2 separate regions of the Homo sapiens genome follow, and region 1 is linked to region 2. Evidence: promoter capture Hi-C in 16 types of primary human blood cells and fetal thymus (Javierre and others, 2016). All regions are on one chromosome and are shown on one strand. Each heading gives the region's core, a stretch centred on a gene start or on the middle of the fragment in contact. The rest is flanking DNA. Distances are from core to core; before and after follow the strand shown.

Evidence for each region. The method cuts DNA at HindIII sites, captures the fragments that hold promoters and counts their contacts. A CHiCAGO score of 5 or more calls a contact.
Region 1: the fragment with the promoter of PCDHGA10 here is called in contact with a fragment that was not itself captured in region 2 in 1 of 17 cell types (M1 macrophages); the score reaches 6.1 in M1 macrophages.

What each region holds. Positions count from the first base shown.
Region 1 is chr5:141,410,262-141,414,989 of GRCh38, forward strand. PCDHGA10 (protocadherin gamma subfamily A, 10) reads left to right here and starts at 2,726. Exons shown (of 4, transcript NM_018913.3): 1 at 2,726-4,728. The coding sequence starts at 2,915. The region is part of intron 1 of PCDHGA1 (protocadherin gamma subfamily A, 1); the gene reads left to right. The region is part of intron 1 of PCDHGA2 (protocadherin gamma subfamily A, 2); the gene reads left to right. All of the region lies in intron 1 of PCDHGA3 (protocadherin gamma subfamily A, 3), which reads left to right. It also overlaps PCDHGB1, PCDHGA4, PCDHGB2, PCDHGA5, PCDHGB3 and PCDHGA6, and 7 more genes. The HindIII fragment of the contact is 11,668 bases long and covers 2,273-4,728 here.
Region 2 is chr5:140,737,029-140,742,231 of GRCh38, forward strand. All of the region lies in intron 3 of LOC105378198 (a long non-coding RNA gene), which reads left to right. Among named protein-coding and RNA genes, the nearest start is that of ZMAT2, 39 kb to the left of the region's middle. The HindIII fragment of the contact is 1,719 bases long and covers 2,822-4,540 here.

The DNA.
Region 1 (4,728 bases), core at 1,476-3,975, 670 kb after region 2:
AACTGCAGTTTTACCTGGTGGTGGCCTTGGCCTTAATCTCAGTGCTCTTCCTCCTCGCCGTGATTCTGGCCATTGCCTTGCGCCTGCGACGCTCTCTCAGCCCTGCTACTTGGGACTGCTTCCATCCTGGTCTCTGTGTCAAGTCTGGACCTGTAGTTCCCCCCAACTACAGTGAGGGGACTTTGCCTTATTCTTATAATCTGTGCATTGCACATACGGGTACAAAAGAGTTTAATTTCCTAAAATGCAGTGTGCCCCTACATTCCAATGAAGACATGGTTTGCAGTGTTTCTCCTGGAGCCTTAATTCCACCTCATGGTGGGGAGGATTTGACTTCACATCCTGAGACTCTGACTTCGGTGAGTTTCTCTTTTTTGTGTGTGATTTATCTAATAGTCTACTAGTTTCTCATATTTTAGGCATACTACTTTATTTTCATATCTAGAATCATATGTTTAAAATCCATAGCTTTTTACAATATTTTCTCAATGTTTTTTCAATTATAGTTTTCACTATGTATTTGGTTCATAAGTTGCTCTATCTTTTTGTAAAATAATGTCACCAGACTGAAGATATTTTGTCTTTGTCTTTTTTTTTTTTTTTTTTTTTTGAGATGGAGTCTCGCACTGTTGCCTAGGCTGGAGTGCAGTGGCGTGATCTCTGCTCACTGCAACCTCCGCCTTCTGGGTTCAAGCGATTCTCCTGCCTCAGCCTCCCAAGTAGCTGGGATTACTGGTGCCCCTCACCACAGCTAAATTTTTTGTATTTTTAGTAGACATGGGGTTTCACTATGTCGACCAGGCTGTTCAGAAACTCCTGTCCTCGTGATCCTCCCACCTTGGCCTCTCAAAGTGCTGGGATTACAGGCGTGAGCCACAATATTTTGTCAAGTTCTGACTATCGAACAGAAGCAGTGGTCTTGGCATCTAAGAAAACAAACAAGTAACCTATCTATTCAAATTTGCGAAGACTTAGTGAATTTACGATATCTTATTTATATATTTTTAAAGCCTAAAAATATTCAGAAGACAGGCCCAGTGGCTCACACCTATAATCACAGCACTTTGATAGGCTGAATCGGAAAGTATCACTTGAGCCCAAGAATTGAGACCAGCCTGGGCAATATAGGGAGACCCCCCATCTCTACTAAAACAACAACAACAAAAAAAAACATTAGCAGAGTGTGGTAGCATTCCCCTGTGGTCCCAGCTACTTGGGAGGCTGAGCTGGGTGGATTGCTTGGTCCTGGGAGGTCAAGGTTGCAGTGAGCCCTGATCTTGCCACTGCACTCCAGCCTGGGCGACAGAGTGCGACCCTGTCTCTAAAATAAATAAATAAATATGCAGGCAGGGCCAAGTGTGCTGTAATCCCAGCACTTTGGGAGGTGGAGGTGGAGAATCTCTTGAGCGCAGGAATTTGAGACCAGCCTGGGCAACACAGGGAGACTCCATCGCTACAGAACATTTAAAAATTAGCAGGGTGTGGTGGCACATGCCTGTGGTCTCAGCTACTCTGGTGGCTGTGGTGGGAGAATCGCTTGAGCCCAGGAAGTCTAGGCTGCAGTGAGCTGTCTAGGTGACAGAGTGAGACCCTGTCTCAAAAAAAAAAGACATTTCTAAGAAATAAATGAAATACTATTGCCTTTGCACTCAGTCTCTGTCTCTGATTCTCTGATAGAAGATTTTTGAAGAAAAAAGATAAAATCTTTGAAGAGTTCTATACTTGGAAGGCATAGTGACATAAACACTTCTGAACATCCTGTTCTCTGTGTGAAAGAAGTGAACTTCTATACCCTTTGCATTTGAGGGAACAATTGCTACTGGGTTGATGGGCACACACAGTTGAAGATATGTGAACCACTGGACTTTGGCCTCTGATACAAACTGCCTAAGAGAAGAGATTATTTATACTGGTATTAATGCTCTGATGAAAACAGGTCATTTGACATAAACACTTACTTGTTAAAAACCTATATCACTACATCTAACTTTGTTTTCTAAAACTTTTAGTACTTCAAATTCTACGTATTTCTTTTCTCATTACAATGCAAACAGTTTAATTTGCAACTGTAATATATGTTCATTTTAGTTTGTGATTACCTGCTTAATCATTTAAATAGGTCCATTTAACTTGTATCCCTGTAAGATAAAGTATGTTTTACACAAAAAGGTTAATTAAGGCTCAGTAAAACTATTCTAGAAGAGTACTTTAAAAACCTCTTACACAATCCTAAGCTAAATAAGTTTAATGAATTAAGTAGTTACAATTATAAAGCTTCAGAGTGAATTATCTCATGAGTTTATTTAATATAATCTTTGTATGAATGTATACTAAATAAAATTGGCCTATTCAAATCACAATTTTAAATTATAAGACTTTTCTGAATTTACCTAGACACTAATATGACCTAAAATAAGTATTATTTACCTTTTATTAAAGTGTGTACATTTCTGTTGGGAAAACGTGTTGCAAATATATATTTAACCAAACATTATCTTGAAATATTTACAATATTTTCACTCCACTTTATCACACCTCCCCTAAGAAACCTACATATAGTAAATTATTTAAAGATAGGAGTGGAGAAACCAAAGAATCTATGTAAAATATAATAATCCAACAGAATAGTTTACTTTCCATTGCATGTATCACTTGGGTGCAGTAACTTCTTAGGACTCTGAGCGCCGCTGTTCACCTACTAGGAGAGAAAACGCAGCCAGAGCTCAATCCGGATTCTCAGGGCTTCAACTACACAAGCCCCACAAACCGGCTGCTGGGCTGCAGGGAAGCTCACTCCAGAATTTAAAGTGCCCAGGCTACAGAGACACCCTGAAGCCACAGAAAGACAAAGGAACCGGTTGAAACACACAACGTGTCCAGTGAGGACTTTGCAGAATTCTGTAACCAGACTACAATGGCCGCTCAAAGGAATCGCTCAAAGGAATCAAAGGATTGCAGCGGGCTGGTCCTGCTCTGCCTTTTCTTCGGGATTCCATGGGAGGCTGGAGCCCGGCAGATCTCCTACTCAATTCCTGAGGAATTAGAGAAAGGCTCTTTCGTGGGCAACATCTCCAAGGACTTGGGTCTGGCGCCCCGGGAGCTGGCGGAGCGCGGAGTCCGCATAGTCTCCAGAGGTAGGACGCAGCTTTTCTCTCTGAACCCGCGCAGCGGCAGCTTGATCACCGCGGGCAGGATAGACCGGGAGGAGCTCTGCGCTCAGAGCGCGCGGTGCGTGGTGAGTTTTAATATCCTTGTGGAAGACAGGGTGAAACTTTTTGGGATAGAAATAGAAGTAACTGATATCAATGACAATGCTCCAAAATTCCAAGCAGAAAATCTAGACGTAAAAATTAATGAAAATGTCGCTGCGGGAATGCGTTTTCCTCTCCCGGAAGCTATTGATCCGGATGTGGGCGTGAACTCCCTGCAGAGCTATCAGCTCAGCCCCAATAAGCACTTCTCCCTAAGAGTTCAGAGCCGTGCCAATGGCGTCAAGTACCCGGAGCTGGTACTGGAGCACTCCCTAGATCGCGAGGAAGAGGCCATTCACCACCTGGTCCTCACCGCCTCCGACGGGGGTGACCCTCTCCGATCTGGCACTGTCCTTGTCAGTGTGACTGTCTTCGATGCAAATGACAACGCGCCGGTCTTCACCTTGCCAGAATACCGAGTGAGTGTTCCTGAGAATTTGCCTGTGGGCACTCAGCTGCTGACAGTCACAGCCACCGACAGGGACGAAGGTGCCAATGGAGAAGTGACATATTCATTCCGAAAATTACCTGACACGCAATTGTTGAAGTTCCAACTAAACAAATATACTGGAGAAATAAAAATATCAGAAAATCTAGATTATGAAGAAACCGGTTTCTATGAAATAGAAATACAAGCAGAAGATGGAGGAGCATATCTTGCAACTGCAAAAGTGTTGATTACAGTAGAAGATGTAAATGACAACAGTCCAGAGCTGACCATCACGTCTCTATTTAGTCCAGTGACTGAAGATTCACCTCTGGGAACAGTCGTAGCCCTTTTAAATGTGCATGATTTAGACTCTGAGCAGAATGGACAGGTAACCTGTTCCATTTTGGCGTATCTACCATTTAAATTAGAAAAGTCCATTGACAGTTATTACAGATTGGTGATACACAGAGCCCTTGACAGGGAACAGGTATCCTCTTACAATATCACAGTGACAGCCACAGATGGGGGAAGTCCTCCTCTATCAACGGAAGCTCACTTTATGCTACAAGTGGCAGATATCAATGACAACCCACCTACCTTCTCTCAAGTCTCCTACTTTACCTATATCCCAGAGAACAACGCCAGGGGTGCCTCCATCTTCTCAGTGACAGCGCTGGACCCGGACAGCAAAGAGAATGCCCAGATTATTTACTCCCTGGCTGAAGACACCATCCAGGGGGTACCTCTGTCCTCATACATATCCATCAACTCAGACACTGGCGTCCTGTATGCACTCAGATCCTTCGACTATGAGCAGTTTCATGAGCTACAGATGCAGGTGACAGCCAGCGACAGCGGGGATCCTCCACTCAGCAGCAACGTGTCGTTGAGCCTGTTTGTGCTGGACCAGAACGACAATGCGCCCGAGATCCTGTACCCCGCCCTCCCCACAGACGGTTCCACAGGCGTGGAGCTGGCGCCCCGCTCCGCAGAGCCCGGCTACCTGGTGACCAAGGTGGTGGCGGTGGACAGAGACTCCGGCCAGAA
Region 2 (5,203 bases), core at 2,431-4,930:
CTCCTATAAGCTACTGAATATGTACATATAGCTCATCTTGTTGGGCATAAGTCCCAGCTTCTCCCTTTTGTCTCTGAAGCAGATGCTTTTCATTTTGGCTGGATGTTTCATTTCCCAACCTGCAGATTGTAACCATTTATAGGAAATAAAACTCTCTTTTTTCTTCTTCCTCAAATCTCATGATCTTTTGTTAATACTTCCCTTCCCAGCAGGGGGGATTATATGAGAAGACTGGACTTAGACCTCTACCCAGTGGTAATGTGGCCATCCTCACTGTGGTGTCAGGGGAGCCAGAACTTCCATGCTTACCCAGCAGTAACAATGAGCTCCCTTCTTCAGGTGGCAATGGAGGCTCTGTGGGGAACCTGGACTTCTGCCTGCACCTGGCAGTAATTAGGTGACATCTCCTTCTTTCTCTGTTCCCCCTTCTGCCTAAATGGTATCAGAGAAATCCCACTAAAACAGAAGGTTTAAATAGGATCCAGAGTAGCGGAATATAATATGAACATATCCAGGTTTTAATGAAAAGTTACTTATCATACCAGAAGATCTCAAACAGAATGAAAAAATGACAATCAACAGATGCCAACATTGTGATGACAGAGATATTAGAATTATCTGACAGAAATTTTAAATTAGCCATTGTAAAAATGCTTCAATAAGCAATTATAAACATTCTTGGAATAAATGAAAAATAGAATGCATAAGCAAAGAAATAGATGATAAAAGAAGAACTAAATGGAAATTTTAGAACTGAAAAATATAATAACTGAAATAAAAACCTCAGTGGATGGGGTGGGTGGGTTCAGCAGCATAATGGAGGAGGCAGAAAAAATAACAAGTGAACTAGAAGATAGAATAATAAAAATTATCCAACCTAAACAACAGAGAGAAATTAGACGGAAAAAAATGAATAGACTTTGATAAGTTGTGGACAGAGCAACCGCTAACATGTTATACAAAGAGATGCACTAAAAAACATAGTATTAACTCAAAATAGAATTTTAGAAAATATTAAAGTAAGATGAAGGCACGAAGAATAAAACAGAGAAGTGAAAATCCAAATGAACAGGAGGCCAGGTGCAGTGGCTCACACCTATAATCCCAGCATTTTGGGAGGCCGAGGTAGGAGGATCACTTGAGGCCAGAAGTTTGAGACCATCTTGGGTGACATAGTGAGACCTCGTCTCTACAAAAAAATAAAAATAAAAAAGCCCCAAAATGAACAATTAGTAAAATACAACATAGATTTCCTTTAGTAACAATTCTCCTCATATCCTTCCTTATTCTTCTTTTTATTCTTCTCTATGATTACCTATTAATGATGAAATACTAGATGTTTTACTTTCTATTTCTTCATAGGATTCCTCTGAATATATTTCTTTCTTTCTCTCTCTCTCTCTTTTTTTTTTTTTTTGAGACAGAGTCTCACTCTGCTGCCCAGGCTGGAGTACAGTGGTGCGATCTCAGCTCACTGCAACCTCTGTCTCCCAGGTTCAAGTGATTCTCATGCCTCAGTTTCGTGGGATTACAGGTGCACACCACCACTCCCGGCTAATTTTTGTATCAGTAGAGACAAAGTTTCACCATGTTGCCCAGGCTGGTGAACATGTTTCTTAATCGTATTCATCCTTTTTAGAATGACAGGGTGGCTTCTCAGAGGTACCATTGGGATCACCTCCAAGTTCTGCAGAATAATTAACTTTTTTTTTTCTTTTTTGAGACAAAGTCTTACTCTGTTGCCCAGGCTGGAGTGCAGTGGTGTGATCTTGGTTCACTGAAACCTCCGCCTGGAGGGTTCAAGCAATTCTCCTGCCTCAGCCTCCCTGGTAGCTGGGCTTACAGGTGTGGGCCACCACACCTGGCTAATTTTTATATTTTTAGTAGAAATGGGTTTCACCATGTTGGCCAGGCTGGTCTGGAACGCCTGACCTCAAGTGATCCACCCACCTAGGCCTCCAAAAGTGCTGGGATTACAGGCGTGAGCCACCACCCCTGGCCCAGAACAAGCAACTTTCAGCCTGATTCTTAAGCATGGGCCTTTATGATAACATTTGTCGTTATAAAATAATTTGTGAGTTGCTCCCTCACTGCCAATTTAATATTTTTAAATTTTAAAACCTATTTTATTTTTAAAAATTTTACTTCTGACCCATGAGATGTAATTAATATTTGTTTTTATAATGAAGCGTCAGGTTTGTTTTTCTTATAAATGACCTTTCATGAATATTTACTTCCATGTTCAGAAAATTTGCTATTCTTATTACCTACTAGTTTTTCTGTAAATTTGCTGGATATTATAATGTTTATAATCATATTAACTCTAAATAAGGAGAGTTTTATACTCGTATTAACTCTAAACATACAGAGTTTTAACTCTAAATAAAAAAGTTTCATATAAGAAGGTGTATCTTCTCACTCATAAGTGGGAGCTAAGCTATGAGGCTGCAAAGGCATAAGAATGATACAGTGCACTTTGGGGACTCAGGGGTGTAGGGTGGGAAGTGGGTGAGGGATAAAAGACTACAAATTGAGTTCAATGTATACTGCTCTGGTGACGGGTACACCAATATCTCACAAATCACCACTAAAGAACTTACTCACGTAACCAAATACCACCTGTTCCCCAAAATCCTACGGAATAACCTCCTTATACTTTTCCCCTTCTTTTTCTAACCATGGAGAATGCCATATGAACACCTCAGACCTTTATATTTTTCTCTTGTTGTATACACTGGTTAGGCCCTTTGGAACAATGACGACAGGATGATTAAAGTGATGATAGCAGACATCCCTGTCTTGTTCTGGATTTCAAAGGGAAAGCTTTAATCATTTCACCATTAAGTATGATGTTTGCTTTAGCTTTTTTTTTTTCCCCTGGACACCCTTACCAAGTTACAAATATTCTCTTATATGCCTAAGGATACAACTAATATCTGCTAAAAATCTTAAGATTAATTAAGATTATTTTAAAATCATGAAAGGTTGTTGAATTTTATTAAGTAATTTTTCTGCATGTACATAGATAATCATGATTTTCCCTTTAGTTCATTAACTTTGCATATATACTAATTACTTTTATAATGTTAAGTCAACCTCATATCTTGGAGAAATTCTACTTATGCTGTATTATTCTTTTTTATGTACTACTGGATTTAATTTTCTAATAATTAGTATGGGTTTTTTTTCATTTATTTACATTAATGACATTAGACTGGGCTTTTCCTTTTTTGTGTGTATTTTTTACAATAGGATTCACTATCAGGTTATTTTAGCATTAGAAAATCATTTAGGAAGTGTTCCTTCTTATTAATTAGGATAGTTTGTATATGATTGAAATGACTTAATTTTTCTTTTCTTTCTTTTTCTTTTATTGAGACAGGCTCTTGCTCTCTCACCCAGGCTGGAATGCAGTGGTGCGATCATGGCTCACTGCAGCTTCCACCTCCTGGGCTCAAGCGATCCTCCTGCCTCAACCTCTCAAGAATCTGGGACCACAGGCACATACCACACGCCCAGCTAATTTTTTATTTTTAGTCGCGATGAGGTCTCACTGTGTTGCATGGGATGATCTCGAACTCCTGGGCTCAAGCCATCCTCCTACCTCGGCCTCCCAAAGTGTTGGGATTATAGGTGTGAGCCACTGTGCCTGGCCCTAACAATTCTTTGTTAGATGAATATTCATGTTAACATTTTTATGCCTTTGCAAAATATAATTCCCAGCAGAACATGGTCATATACCATGATTGTCTCCTTTTCTTCTTTCTACTTTTCCTGAAGTTAATGCTTGACTTTTCTTCATGTGCTTAGTTTTCCTTGGACCTCTTGTTAATTTTTTGCACATTCTTCAATAACTCTTAGTACAGTTTTCTATGTGGTATATCATTTCAGGTAATCAGAGAAAGTATTAATACAAAAGAGCTATAAGATACCAGAATGTTTAGGCCCAGATCCAGAGAGGAGTAATTGTTGTGGGTTATTACCTAGTAACCAGGTAACAATGAAGCTCTGGTAGCTTTAAAGACCCAAGGCTGGCATTTGGCAGTTTGGGAGGATTTCATGGGTCTGACTCATGTACTGGCTGTGAAAGTTGATTTGAGCTAAAATGACCCCGGTTTGGTCATCTGGGAAGCACTGAGGCTGGTCCAAGACTTGTGGCAGGTAGCCACTGAGTGGGAGGAGGGAGAGTGAGCCTAGACACAGCTGGGGGAACAGTTTTTAGGGAAAGGAAGACATGGGTTTCTCTCAGTGGTGTGCATCCTCAAATGGGGGCTTCCCAAGTTTGTGTGTCCTGGTCTGGAAGTTGTGGTGGGTAGAAGGAAACTTAAAACTCAGCATCGTTCTTGAACCATTCAGGCCTAGGCTGACCCTACTGCCCAGGGTATACCAACTCATGACACTTATCTGTCAAGGAACTCCAAATTCAATCTACTTTCTGCATTATCTCAGTGATATATTTGCATGCTTCTTCCTGTCTGTGTTTTGGGGGCAGGTTTGATGTCCATGGACCCTCTTTAGTCCTCTATGTATGTCCCCACCAAGCTTATCATTTTCTTGGAGATGGGAGAGAGCCCTTTTTCAAGGAGGGGTCTAAAACGGCATGGATTCCTGAGAAGACTAGGCTGGGTCAGGAGCTGAAGAGGTTTAAGGTTGGGACAGAAACTCTGGAGGTTAGCCTTGGTAAGAGTCTTTTGAGACCTACTCCATGAGTAAATCTGCTCTTCACCAAATTTCCAGATCCCCACAGTTCCTCTGAGCAGCTTCTCACTACTGTCATCTCTCCCAGATATGAACCAAATCCCTGGTTGCCAAGACAAGTTGACAAGGTTTGAAAAAGAAACTATTTTGAAACAGAACTTCAAGGAAAAATAAGAACCCATTCTCAGGCAAATCCTAGCAGCTTTGATTAGTAAAGAAACAGCAGTCCTTGTTTGATTCAGACAGTTTATTACTTACATAGACACAAAAGGAAATAAGCAGAATTTCCAGCTCTCCCACAGGACAGCACCAATACAAAAGGGGATGGCAACCTGAGTAATGAGACACCCTGTTGCTGAGGAGCTGAGTCCATTTGCAACTAAGAAGTTTATGGCTTGCAGTTCTGCCCTAAGAAAGATGAGGCAGAATGCCTCATACCTTATCAGAACCTGGGAAGTGATAAGAACTGCCTCATGACAGCCTCCCAAGAAGATAAAAAGATGAG